Linked DNA regions of Homo sapiens: all the other regions are linked to region 4. The links are contacts of gene promoters, found by promoter capture Hi-C in blood cells and fetal thymus (Javierre and others, 2016). All regions are on one chromosome and are shown on one strand. Each heading gives the region's core, a stretch centred on a gene start or on the middle of the fragment in contact. The rest is flanking DNA. Distances are from core to core; before and after follow the strand shown.

What was found. The method cuts DNA at HindIII sites, captures the fragments that hold promoters and counts their contacts. A CHiCAGO score of 5 or more calls a contact.
Region 1: a contact is called between a fragment that was not itself captured here and the fragment with the promoter of MTHFD2 in region 4, in 4 of 17 cell types (naive CD4 T cells, activated CD4 T cells, total CD8 T cells and 1 more). The highest score is 8.5, in naive CD4 T cells.
Region 2: a contact is called between a fragment that was not itself captured here and the fragment with the promoter of MTHFD2 in region 4, in 2 of 17 cell types (activated CD4 T cells and naive CD4 T cells). The highest score is 7.3, in activated CD4 T cells.
Region 3: the fragment with the promoter of INO80B here is called in contact with the fragment with the promoter of MTHFD2 in region 4 in 15 of 17 cell types (total CD8 T cells, naive CD8 T cells, non-activated CD4 T cells and 12 more); the score reaches 15.6 in total CD8 T cells.

Annotation. Positions count from the first base shown.
Region 1 is chr2:74,508,296-74,511,396 of GRCh38, reverse strand. No RefSeq gene overlaps it. Among named protein-coding and RNA genes, the nearest start is that of PCGF1, 2.2 kb to the right of the region's middle. RefSeq lists an enhancer at 2,893-2,952. The HindIII fragment of the contact is 467 bases long and covers 1,290-1,756 here.
Region 2 is chr2:74,488,907-74,492,004 of GRCh38, reverse strand. TTC31 (tetratricopeptide repeat domain 31) reads right to left here. Exons shown (of 13, transcript NM_022492.6): 3 at 1,878-1,980; 4 at 1,532-1,761; 5 at 1,266-1,349; 6 at 821-877; 7 at 630-710; 8 at 333-524; 9 at 1. Among named protein-coding and RNA genes, the nearest start is that of TTC31, 7.4 kb to the right of the region's middle. The HindIII fragment of the contact is 4,043 bases long and covers 1-3,098 here.
Region 3 is chr2:74,453,771-74,456,808 of GRCh38, reverse strand. INO80B (INO80 complex subunit B) reads right to left here and starts at 1,722. Exons shown (of 5, transcript NM_031288.4): 1 at 1,635-1,722; 2 at 1,211-1,403; 3 at 873-991; 4 at 537-706. The coding sequence starts at 1,692. INO80B-WBP1 (INO80B-WBP1 readthrough (NMD candidate)) reads right to left here and starts at 1,786. Exons shown (of 8, transcript NR_037849.1): 1 at 1,635-1,786; 2 at 1,211-1,403; 3 at 873-991; 4 at 537-706. RefSeq lists an enhancer at 1,619-2,208. The HindIII fragment of the contact is 3,309 bases long and covers 1,242-3,038 here.
Region 4 is chr2:74,196,924-74,200,372 of GRCh38, reverse strand. MTHFD2 (methylenetetrahydrofolate dehydrogenase (NADP+ dependent) 2, methenyltetrahydrofolate cyclohydrolase) reads right to left here and starts at 1,758. Exons shown (of 8, transcript NM_006636.4): 1 at 1,631-1,758. The coding sequence starts at 1,731. RefSeq lists silencers at 1,000-1,089, 1,220-1,499, 1,690-1,829 and an enhancer at 1,538-2,096. The HindIII fragment of the contact is 3,357 bases long and covers 1-3,356 here.

The sequences.
Region 1 (3,101 bases), core at 274-2,773, 310 kb before region 4:
TGGCTGGCCTCAAACTCCTGGGCTCAGACAATCCTCCCACTTTGACCCCCTGAGTATCTAGAGTTACAGGTGTGCACCACCACCCCAACCTGGCTTGAAATGTCCTTTCTTGCCTCCTTGTCTCTGATTCACGGGGAAAGGATGGTTCCTGCTGGTTTATATTCAAGATTGGCTAGGCGCGGTGGCTCATGCCTGTAATCCTAGCACTTTGGGAGGCCTAGGTGGGTGGATCACGAGGTCAGCAGATTGAGACCATCCTGGCTGACACGGTGAAACCCCGTGTCTACTAAAACTACAAAAAATTAGCCGGGCTTGGTGGCGGGCACCCGTAGTCCCAGCTACTCGGGATGCTGAGGCAGGAGAATGGCGTGAACCCGGGAGGCGGAGCTGGCAGTGAGCCGAGATCGCGCCACTGCACTCTAGCCTGGGTGACAAAGCGAGACTCCATCTCAAAAAAAAAAAAAAAAAAAAAAGACGAAGATAGAGGTGCTGGAATGAGTGCCCCCTCATACACACTGCTTTGGATCTGTCTCACCATGTCCTGTGTGTCCGTGGCTCTCATCAACTTAGTCTTTCCTACCCCTCAGCTGTCTCAGATCTTTATCATCTGGACAAAATCTTTGCCTGAGTCTTCAAGAGAGATCATGCTTTTCCTTTCCTTTTTACTTCATGCCTACTGCCTCCATTTCATCATGATTTATTCTTGTTTTAACTCAGTGCAAGCTGCCTTCATTATAGTAACCCTTTCTCAGAGAGCTCCAGTGTTCAGTATCCCTCCTCCAGGACTTCCCTGGCATGTTTTACTTTGTTGGTCATCAATTATTTTTTGAAGTGTCCCTTCTTTTTGCTTCTGTAATATCTTATTCCACATCTTTGGACTTTCGTAGTCACTGCTTATGTTTTTCCTCCACTGATTTTCCTTCTTCCACTGAAGACTGTGAGGATTCTTCAGAGCTCAGACTTAAGCTTTCTTTTTTCTTTTCTTTTTTTTTTTTTTTTAAGACATGGGATCTCACTCTGTCGCTCAGGCTGGAGTGCAGTAGCATTATCACGGTTCACTGCTGCCTCAACCTCCCAGGCTCGAGCAATCTTCCTAACTCAGCCTCCCAAGTAGCTGGGACTACAGGTATGCGCCACCATGCCAGGCTAATTTTTGTACTTTTTGTAGTGACGGAGTCCCACCATGTTGCCCAGGCTGGTCTCCAACTCCTGGGCTCAAGTATCCACCTGCCTCAGCCTCCCAAAGTGCTGGAATTACAGGCATTAGCCACTGCACCAGGCCTTAAGCTTTCTTTATCTCTTCATCTGCTCAAGTTTCACCCATTCCAAAAGTCCCAACTCTCATATCCAGCCAGATAACTCTGAGACCTCCATCCCTTGTTCTGACACTCCAGCCCCACCGCTCACTCTCCTAGCCTTCTGACAAGCTCCCCCTGCTTCCCTGCAGCCACCTTAAGTCCAGCAGGCTGGAGGACATGCTTCCCTCCAAAGCTCTTCATTCACCCTCTTACCCAGGCCTACCAAGCCAGGTTCCTGGCTACTTCCTCCTATTATACTTTCCTTTGAACTGTTTCAGATACAGCCCTTCCTTTCCATTGCCATTGCTAAAACCCTAATCGAGGCTGTCATCACCACCACTTGGATTCATTCATGTATTCATCCAGAAAAGTTTTATTGAACACCAACTATGCACCTGGCACTGGAGCTATATCTGTGAACACAACAGAGGAAAAAAAATCCTTGCCACTGAGAAGCTTATAGTCTAGTGGAAAAGGCAGATGAAAAACTAGGAAATATGTTTTCTAGAAAATATTTTCTGAAAATAACTAGAAAATATAATATATATTAGAAATGTATATTAAATAATAATAAATGATAGAATGCTAATAAGTGCTAACCAGAAAAAAAAGAGCAAGGAAGTGAAAGGGTGGGTGAGTTGTTATTCATCTAGAGTGATTACAGCAGCCTCATGAGTAAAGACCTGAAAGAAGGAGGGAGCCATTTTGGATACCTAAGCATTTCAAGTTGGGGACACAGTGGAAGGATATCCTGGTGTATCTGAAGAGACTATGCAGGCCCTTGCACACCACTCTGAGACTTTGACTTTCATTCTGATTGAAAAGGGAAGCTCTCAACAGGTTTTAAACGTAAAAAAGGAACAACCTAATTTTTCAACTTTATTTTTAATAGCTTTCTTGAAGTATAATGGACATATAAACTGCAAATATTTGAAGTGTACAATTTGATAAGTTTTGACATATGTATATACCCATGATACCATCATCACCATAAAAATAATAAACATATCCACATCTCAAAAATTGTCCTTTGTCCTTTGTGTTTCATGTTTTATCAGAATCACTAGCTCTGAGAAACAGCACTCAACTGTGATGTTGAGAACAGGCGAAGGGGGACTCAAGGAAAACAGTCAAGAGGCCACTACAGAGGACAGATGATAGTGGCTCGGACCAGGGAAGTAGGTAAACAGGGGCTGTAACGAATAATTGATTAATCACTAATCTCATAACTTCTTGCTGCATATTCACTTCAATTCACTCTGAAGAGAAATGAACAAAAATGTCGCTTTCACAGGATAACCTCCCTTCAAAAAAGTCCGCTAGCTCCCAATTGCCCTCAGGCTAAAAATCGCAACTCTTTATGGCCCTGCTTTTTCTATTACCACTCTCAAATCTACATCTTGACCTTCCTGTCCTCTGGTCATTCCCCTCCACGTCCTTTCTATTTCACCACACTTCCACCCCCTCCCCCAAGTCTAAATTGTGCCCAAAGTCCCACTTTCTCCAGAAAGCCTTTTTTGAGGTCTCCATTGGAATCTCTCCCTTCTCGTATCTCCAGTTGCATTTGATGTTAATACCTCATAGCAAATTTATCCCTTTTTAAGTACCCAGAGCCGGCGGTGTAGAGCTCTCGAGCGAGCACCCCGCGTAGTCCCCAAGTGCGGGACTGGGCCTATGCTACTACAGGCGCTCGCTGCCTAAGCCTGTCTGTGTGTGGCAGTGTCCTAGTCGTCCTCCCCTCCTCCTTCGGCATCTGCTCTGCATTAGTCTGTCCCAGGCCTCCGCAGGCGCCGATGATTAAAT
Region 2 (3,098 bases), core at 253-2,752, 290 kb before region 4:
CCTGGGGATAGGGTGCAAAGTCAAGCAGGTCTTGAGGTCTCAGCCTCCCCAAATCCTTCTCCTTTGTTTAAACAGGTAACACTGCAATTAGCATTACCCAACTCATGTAATCCTCATGACAGCCCTACAAGATGGTATCAGCCCTATCTTCCTAGACAGGAAACCACCCGGGGTCATGGTGACAGTGATGGGGCCTGACTGTAGGTCTCTTGACCCTAGAGCCAGAGAACTCCCACTGGACCCTGTGTCAATCCTTAGACCCTGTGCCTCCCCAGCAGCTCCTTGTGCCCCTTCCACGGTTCCAGCTGAATAAGGTTCTTCAGCCACCTCACCTGTACCTTTGGACTCTGCTGGGGCCTCTCCTCTCTTGGAGGGCTCTCTTCCTCTTGACCCATCTTCTGGAGGGCCAGACCCCTGCCTTGGGGCTCCTGGTTCAGTCCCTTCTCTCTGCGGGCACTGAGGGGCCAATCCCCAACCTTGCGCAAAGCCAGAGACACAAAAGTGCTAGATAGATCCAGTGAGTCCTGTGAACAAAATGGAAAGTTAGGGAGGGGGTGGGGATGAAGTACATTCTGGAGGAGGAGGAGGAAAATGAGCAGAGACCAAGAAGGGAAAAAAGGGGCTCTCACCTCTTCTTCACCACACTGTCCCTGAACTGGGTTTCCAGGGCTGGATGGGGGGCTCTCATCTCCATCTGAGGTAGTGCTGGCCTGGAAGAAAGATAGACAGGTACAGAGTTGGGATCACCTTGAGCTGCCTGCTTTCTTGGCCCTCACCTTCCTGGCACTTGGTGCTCTTAGTACCTGCCCTAGATACTCACCTTGGGCTCCCCACAGTACTGCTCCAAACGCTCCTGTCGCTTCCGTTCCTTTTGACGCTGCAATAGTAATGGTAACAATGATGTATTTTGAACACTTACTGTATGTCGTGTGCTGGGCTAAGATTTCGCATTCCATCTTTGCAGCTCTATGAGACAGGCATCATTATTATCCTCATTTTGCAGGTGAAAAAGCAGACAAGAGAGGCACCAGCAAGAGGCCTCATGTAAGGAGGCAGATTCCTACCTAGGCAGCACAGTAGGATTCCAGAACCACTGCACCAGATGGCCTGTGAGAGACCCCCCAGTCCCTGGGCCCCTTGTGTCCTCCTGGCAAGAGAGTCCACTGCAGGCCATCTTGAGCTCTCTCCTGTTCCCACAAAGTTTCCTCTTTCCCTCTCCCAAATCCCTTTGGCTCCCCTGCACCCTCCAGCCATGCTCTAGCCACCTTCTTCTTGAGTCGCTTTTTCTCTGCTTTCTGTTTCATGCGCTCCTCCTCAGCCACCAGCTCCTCAGCCAGGCGATTGGCTTCCTGAAGGACGAAGGGCAGGTGACAGAAAAAGAGAGAAACAGGGAAATGGAGAGCAAACATGAAAGGGGGCAGGCAGTATAGAAGGATCTTGAAAGGTACCAATTAGGGGAGAATATAGGGATGGGGATACAGGGATTGAAAGAACCCTGGGGGACGGCAAAGCCCTCTCCTGAGAATCTCACCTCTTCTGTCACCAGGAGCTTCTGGGGCATGGCCACCTGAAGCAGGCTGTCTGAGACACTGGGGAAGGTGGCAGAGGCAGAGGGGCTTTGAGGGCAGGGCTCAGACTCTTGGGGAGGATACAGGAAGGACTTGCGGAGACCACAGTAGGTGCCCAGTCCCTCAGCCCCCTTGCCCCTGTCACTCTGTCCAGTTGATTTCCCTTCATCATCCAAGTGGCCCAGGAGGTAATCTGTCAGGAGGGAGAAAGAGACAGGAAAGAAAGGACATGAGAGCGGGGTGCATCTGAGGGTCAGCCCTCCCAGGGTACCAGCCTCGATCCCTGGGCCCGGTCCCTGCACTCCCCACCATGGTGCCACAGCTGCAGCCGCCCGCTGCTCCCATCCACATGGATCCGGTGCAGGCCCTGGGGATCACTCTCCACAAGCCGTCGAAGAAAATCCACTATGTCCTGGGAGGGGAGGGGAGGGGAGGGGAGGCTGGTGTTGGGGGCAGTTCCTGGAGAGAGCAAGGGCTTCGCTGGCTTGATCTCTCCACCATGGCAGCCACCAACCAGCTATCCAGCCCAGAGACTCTCACTGGCTCTGACCTCTCCCTCCTCAGCACCGCAAAATCTGCTGCCCCCAGCTATTGTAGTGAATCACCTCCCCTCGCTGCTTTCCTGCCTTCCCAAGGGTTGAGTATGGTATTCAACCTGGCCTCCTCTACCATCCAGGATCTTCTCTCCTCAACCTGAGTTAGCCACACTGAGGCCCCTGGAATGAAGCCCTCCCACCTGCTCTTCCAGCTAGGCCCCCTGTCATATCTGCAGTATGAACAGCTCCACATAACCCACCCTGAGGCTAGCTCACACCTAAACAAGTACAGCAGCTCCTGGCTGGCCGCTCCTCTGCACCTCATCTGTTTCTCCACAAAACTAAGCTCTAAGAAATTACTTCCCTACTCAGGGACATCCAATAATCCCCCACTGCCAAGGCCATAGGCAGAGTTGAACCTAATTCCTCAGCCTACGATTCAGAGCCTTCCAAAAGGCTCCCAGGCTGACCTTTCCAGCCCTCCTTTTAATCCTCCCCTGCTTCACTGCTGTCCTCCCTCCCACCACCAGGCTCCCTCCAGCCTTGGGGCCTTCCCCCAGCTGCTCTCCAATCCCTCCTAACTCTTGAGCTTCTTTCTCACATCTTGCCTCACCTTCAAGGTCCAGTTCAAATTCTATCTCCCTTCAAAGCCTTCCCAGACCCTTTCATCTCCAATTATCTCTGCCTCCTCCAACTAACCTGCAACCACATTATCTGTGTTACACAATTTAGAAACTTGTTATTGATTGCTTTCTATTGCTCTCCTCATTGGCCAGGCAGCATGGAATTCCAAAGGGCATTGTGCTGGAGTGGAGCCACTTGCATCTGAGGTTATTTTTTCTTTTGAGGTGGATTCTTGCTCTGTCACCCAGGCTGGAGTGCAGTGGTATGATCTCAACTCACTGCAACCTCTGCCTCCCGTGTTCAAGCGATTCTCCTGCCTCACCCTCCCAAGTAGCTGGGATTACAGGCACACGCCACAATACCATTTGTA
Region 3 (3,038 bases), core at 473-2,972, 260 kb before region 4:
GCTTCCTAGTTGTTCTCCATACTTCTATCTCTTGTCTCCACGAAGATTCATTCTCTACAAAGATGCCAAAGTAATCTATTGAAATGTAAACCAAGTATGTCACTTCTCTGCGTACAGCCCTTCAGTGGCTTGTCCACTTTTTCTTCTCCTTTGCTAGACATGTTCCAGTCTCAAGGTCTGTGCGCCTGCTGGTCTCTGCTCAAAAGCTCTTCTGGTATTGCAAATGTTATCTCTTCAAAGAAGCCTTCTCTAACTACCCTAATGTCTCTCTTCCATCATTTCTATCTGTTTGTTTACGCCACTTTCTATTTCATCACCCTTTTCTTTTTGTCATAAACCATATAGCTTTTTGAAATTATTTACTTATTTACTTCCCAGCCCCCCAACACACACACTAGAATACTAGCTCCAGGAGAACAGAAACTTTGTCTTTTCTCTACTATCGATATCCCCAATGCCACGCAAAGTGCGTGGGTCGTGGAGAGTTCTCAATACTGTATACATTTGGTGAGTGAATAAACAATGAACCAACATACCTGTCGAGCAGTAAGCAGCCGCTCATTGATCTCCTTCTTGAGGTCTCCATTGTCATCCAGCTCCCCCTTCTCCAGGGCATCCAGCCACCTCTGTTCCTCCTCTTCCTCCTGACCCCCTAACCCTCCTGATAGGTCCCGAAGTGGAGAGGGAGAGAGATTACTGTCTTCATCTGGGAAGGAAGTTGGAGAAAGAAAAACAGAATTGTTCAGATGGGGCACCCTAATTTGGCTGAGTTAATACTGGGACATGGAAAATCCTAACCCATTTCAGAACCAACCTTCTTTCTTTAGGCGGGTATAATAAGAAACCCAGTTTCCCCACCTCCAGATCCTCACCCAGCCAGGCACGGTACTGCTCAAGGGGGACTCCTTCCATAGGTTCCTCTTCATTATCCACAACCATAAGGGGAGAGGGTGAGCGAGGCCCCTCTGGGATCACAGTGAAGGTAGGAACACTGCAGAGAAGCAACACTACTCTTTAAAATGAGCAAGCGTCTCCTCCTCCTACTCCGTAGCTACACCCAACTTTCCCCACCCTCTTAGACTCTTGCTGCCTAAATCTGGACCCTGAAGTCACAGTGTCCATTCGGTCTTCTAGAAAGCCCAGTCGGCTTCTAACTACTATCTCTGCTCCTAAAGTTCCCCTTATAAAACTATGACCCTCTTGGCCTCACCTCTTGGTCCCCAGGACTTGTCCCCCAAGCTTGATTTTGAGTTTGAGCTGAGGCTTGGCAGGGGACGGCTGCGTGGGCCCGGCGTCTTCTTCCTGATGGTGTTTCTTCTTGTGTTTCTTCTTGTGCTTCTTGTGTTTTTTCTTGTGCACTCCATGGCCATGGGCACCCGCCAGGCTCAACTCCAGGGCTTCTCCTGTGGAAGGAAAGCCTGTCGACAGTGTTTGGCCGGAGGGTGGCAGGGGAAGCCCTGAATAACCTAAGCCCCTACTGGATCCCACCCTTCCCGCAGTACTCGCTGTTACCATAACAACAGCACCGCCTTTCTCCTTGCCACCTGTGGCCGAAGTACCCTGGACTCTCCGAGGAGCAAGAACGGGACTTCTTTTCTAACACGACCTAAATTGCTTGATCTATTCGCGCTTACCCGGCTCAGGGGCCTCCATAGCCCCAGAGGTGCTCCCACGCCGCCACAGCTTACTCATGAGGTCCTGCGAGGAAAGGGGACTAGAAATGGTTGGGACACACGCAGACACGCCTTTTCCGCCCCGCGGAAAAACTGGAGCCAGCAAAACAACCAGTTACTTCCGGTTCATGGCAACCATCCTTGTGCGGGGCACGCTTCGCGTCCAAAATCGTCCCTGAGAAACGAGGATCCTTCCAACGAACGTTCCGGTCCCTCTGAGGTCGGGACAGCCCAAATGGGCAGGGCTTTCCCCTGGCTCCGCCTCCCCACGCTAGCTTTCAGAACTCAGCGCGGATGAGTCAATTATTGAACACAAGTTTGGTGAATGTATACACTAGACCAAGTGCGGGAAGCTAGTCTAAGAGGATGCAAAGATGAATATGAACACCGCCCCTGTCCTTGAGGAACTCACAGTTGGGTGGAGGAATACATAAACTATATTGATGACAAAATGGCCGAAATGGTTAAACAGCACGAGTGCCCTAAGAGCAGATGCAGTTTAGGTATTTAAACTTCAATTTTCATAAGTAGGGAAATGAATAAATGAATTACGGTGCAGCTGTACAATGCGGAACACCATATTGCTAAGAAAAGTTGAGTTGTAAGTAATTAATGAGATTGACACAGAATTTAAACAATCTAAGTGTCCTGATGAATTGGTGTATCCATACAGTGGGATGTTAAGCAGCTTGGAAAAGAAATGAGGCGCCCCAGAAGGCTATCTAGGAAATTGGTAAGAGTCATTTGCTGATGAGCATCTAGAGAACAAGGGTGGATGGCGACCTATTTTTTTATGATTATACCCTCTTGTGCCTTTTGAATTTTGTATAAAACGTGTATATTTTACCTCATTTTAAAAAAGACATAAAAACAGGTAGGTTTGTATGTGCTGATACACGAAATAAGAAAAGTAAATTTCCCATCCTGGCTAATACGATGAAACCCCGTCTCTACTAAAAATACAAAAAAAAAAAAAAAAATTAGCCGGCGTGATGGCACGCGCCTGTAGTCCCAGCTACTCGGGAGGCTGAGGCAGGAGAATCGCTTGAACCCGGGAGGTGGAGGTCGCAGTGAGCCGAGATCGCGCCACTGCACTCCAGCCTGGTCGACAGAGCGGGACTCCGTCTCAAAAAAAAGAAAAAAAAAAAAAAGTAAATTTCAAGATTATGTGATCTGATTTTTAAAAGCATAATATACTAGCAAATACATAGAAAAAATTGAGGAATGTATACCTGTTAATGTTGGTTAACTGTAGAAGTTGGGGTTGAGGAACTTTCACTATTTAGGTATGTAATGTATTTTCTTACAGCCAATATATATCACGTTTATAATTAGAAAATAACACCTATATACATATATCTAAAT
Region 4 (3,449 bases), core at 509-3,008:
ACTTGTTCTTTCAGAAAGGTAGTGAAAAGAGCATTTGTTATTGGAGAGTGTAGACAAACTGGCCCAGTTCTTTAGGTAATGAATGAGAGCATCTTTATAAATCTCTTTTGGACCATGGAAGCCTAGGAAAGGTCTGGTCCACAGTCACATGAGGCCAGCACTCAGGAAGAGGGAGAAGGGGAGAAAACACACAGTAACGAAACATGGGGGAGGTCAAGAGTCAGACCAGGGAAAACCCTGAAAGTCCCCTCCCACGTTTTCCTTCAAGAACTCATTGCTCCAACAAGCAGCGCCTTTGAAATATTTCTAACAGCATTTCCGCACTGACTGGAAATTACACGCGTGTTCTGCCCCTTGTCAGGAACATGAGCTCCATTAAGAACAGTTTTTCTCATCTTTGAATTCGCACAGCTTGGCATAGTGTCTGGTACACAGTGAACGTTAGATGAAAAAAAGAAGGGGCTGATGTTGTAAGGTGCAGGGCTCTAACAATGCCAACAATGCCAGCGCTCTAATGACCGACCAAATCACCTTCCCAAGGAAACCCAAAAATGCAAACAGAGCTTTTCCTTTCCTCCTCCCCTGTATATTTTTCCCAATTTTGTTATTGTGGTAAAATTCACATAACATAAACCTTATCAACTTTTTTTTTTTTTTTTTTTTTTGAGACAGGGTCTCGCTCTGTCGCCCAGACTGGAGGGCAGTGGTGCAATCACGGCTCACTGCAGCCTCGAACTCCTGGGCTCAAGCGATTCTCGTGCCTCAGCCTCGGCGCGTGTCACCACGCCCGGCCCATCTTAACCATTTTTAAGTGCAGTTCAGTGGTATTAAATACGTTCATATGTTGTGCAACCATCACCACCATCCATCTTCAGAACTCTTCATCTTGTAAAACTGAAATTCTGCAAGTACCGCTGAAATATGGGTACTTGTCACTCTCCATTCCCCCTTTCCCTAAGGCCCTGGGAGCCTCCCGGATGTTTGCCACCTCTATGTACGCAGCCCGGCACTGACAGGCTCTGGTGGGCTGCAGCCAAAGCTAGGGTGCCCAGAGTCCGTTCATGTTCCTGGCAGAGCGGAGGCAGCGCGGGCCACTCCCACCGGCGGAGGGAGGAGGGCGGCGCGGGGACCCCGAGCAAGTCGGCTCCGCGATTTCATCAGCTGCAGCAGCGCCCTCCGCCGCTAGGGTCCCCGCAAGGACAACTCGCCGAGGGCTGCTCTTTTGGAACCCTCGCCTGTTCTCCCCCAGACGACTCTCAGCATCCCAGCCAGAGGCGGCCGGCGCTGTCGGAAGGCTCCGCGTAAACTGATGCCTTCGCGTTCCGCACGCCACCCCCGTCCCGCCCGCCGACTGGCCACGGGCCCCGGCGACGCCCCGAGTCGCAGGAGAGCGGCTCCCTCCGAAAGGCGGGCTTCGGGTACCAGCCCTCCGCGCCGAGGAAGCGCCCCAGTCGAGAGCTGCGGCGGCGCTCGGTGCCACGTCGCCCCGCCACACCCCTCAGCGGCCACCACCGCCGGGGCGGAGATGTTCGGGAAGGACTTCCCTCGGTGTCCCTCGGGGGCCCGGCGTGCCCCTCGCCCTCCGTTCCCCTCAGCTTTCCGCGCTGACCGAGCTCTGTGACCCTCTTACCGAACTGCCGCGAGGTGGAAAGGGCGAAGGCGAAGGGAGCAGCTGTGCGCGGGCTGCAGCAGCCGGGCAGCCAAAGCAGACATTAGAGAAGTCGCAGCCATAGACCGCGCCGGTGACTGCGCCGGGAGGGAAGCGCGCGCGCGGGCCACGCGGTTATACTGCGGCCTCGTGGCAGGCCCCGCCTCCCTCCGCCACCCATTGGTCCCTGCCGCATGCCACTGGCTGTCTGTTGAGCCAGGTGGAGCCGAAGGGGCCAACCGGTTTTCTTTATTAAACGTAAGCGAAGTCCGAAAGAGCCCTGCTTTTGATTGGAGCCAGAAGAGCCTGGAGCGAGGTCCTGTAAGGCGCTGAAGCCTCGGCAACGTGCCATGATAGGCTGAGGAAGTCAAACTCCTGCCTGACGCCGCTAGTGTCACCGAAGGCCGGACAACACAAGAGAAAAGTTCATTCATTCATTCGTTGAACAATTATATGAGCGCCTACTGTGTGCCAAGCACTGTAAAGGGTGGATGAAAAGACAAGCTGATAGAATGCCAACGAACAGAAGTAAAAGGAATGATGGAGTTAGAAAATCACCATTTTCCAAAATCAGTACATGGTGGCGCGTGACTACAGTACCAGCTACTGGGGAGGCTGAGGTGGAAGGATCACCTGAGTTCAGGAGGTTGAGGCTGCAGTGAGCTGAAGGCGCGCCACTGCACTCCAGCCTGGGCGACGAGAGTGAGACCATATCTCAAAACAACAACAAAAAAAGTAAAATCATAAAAGATATTCAGAGACAGACGTCAGGGTTGCATGTGCAACCCTGATTCAGAAGCAGCAATAGATGTCAAAACAACTGGGTGAAAGTTGGATGAGGAGCAAGATATTTACATATAGGGTTGCCAGATCTAGCAAATAAAAACACAAGATGCCCAATCAAATCAGAATTTTAGATAAACACTTTGGGAGGTCATATTTATACTTTATTTATGGCTTATCTGGAATTCAGATTCAACTGGGCTTCCTGTATTTTTTCCCGCAAACTTTTTGCATAGTCTCAAAGTATCTCTCCCGCAAGGAAACTTAAGGAGGGCAGGGCGCGGTGGCTCACTTCTGTAATCCCCAGCTCTTTGGGAGGCCAAGGCGGACGGATCACCTGAGGCCAGGAGTTCGAGACCAGCCTGGCCAATGTGTTGAAACCCCCGTCTCTACTAAAAACACAAAAAATTATCTGAGCATCGTGGCGGACGCTGTAATCCCAGCTACTGGGGAGACTGAGGCATGAGAATCGCTTGAATCTGGGAGGCAGAGGTTGCAGGGAGCCGAGACTGTGCCACTGCACTTCAGCCTGGGCAACAAAAAGACTCTGTCTCAAAAAACAAAACAAACAAACAAAGAACAGGGGAAACCAATCCTGTCAACACCTTGACCTTTACTTCTAGCCTCCAGGAAGGAAAGGAAAATGGTAAATTTACAGTGAAGAAACATGACAGTTACTGCTTCAACCACGTGATCAAAGTTAGCACCACCCAGTAAGGGAACACACATATATGCCTTCTGATAGGATCCATTGAGGAGACACATCACTTCGTAGCTCTTAACAAGTCTGTAAATTTAATAAGGTGATTTTCCTAAACCAATGAGTCTCCTAAAAACGGTTACAGATTCCTCATTTCACATTGAGAAGAAAGATCACAGACCTAGAATGTTAAAACTGTCCAGGAAAAAAAACAGTTGTAAAGCTTTGGAACACACTAGTAGATCTTAATCTATTCACAAGGAAATATCAGACAAGCCCAAAGTGAGAGATATTCTACAAGATAAATTGCTTGTACTC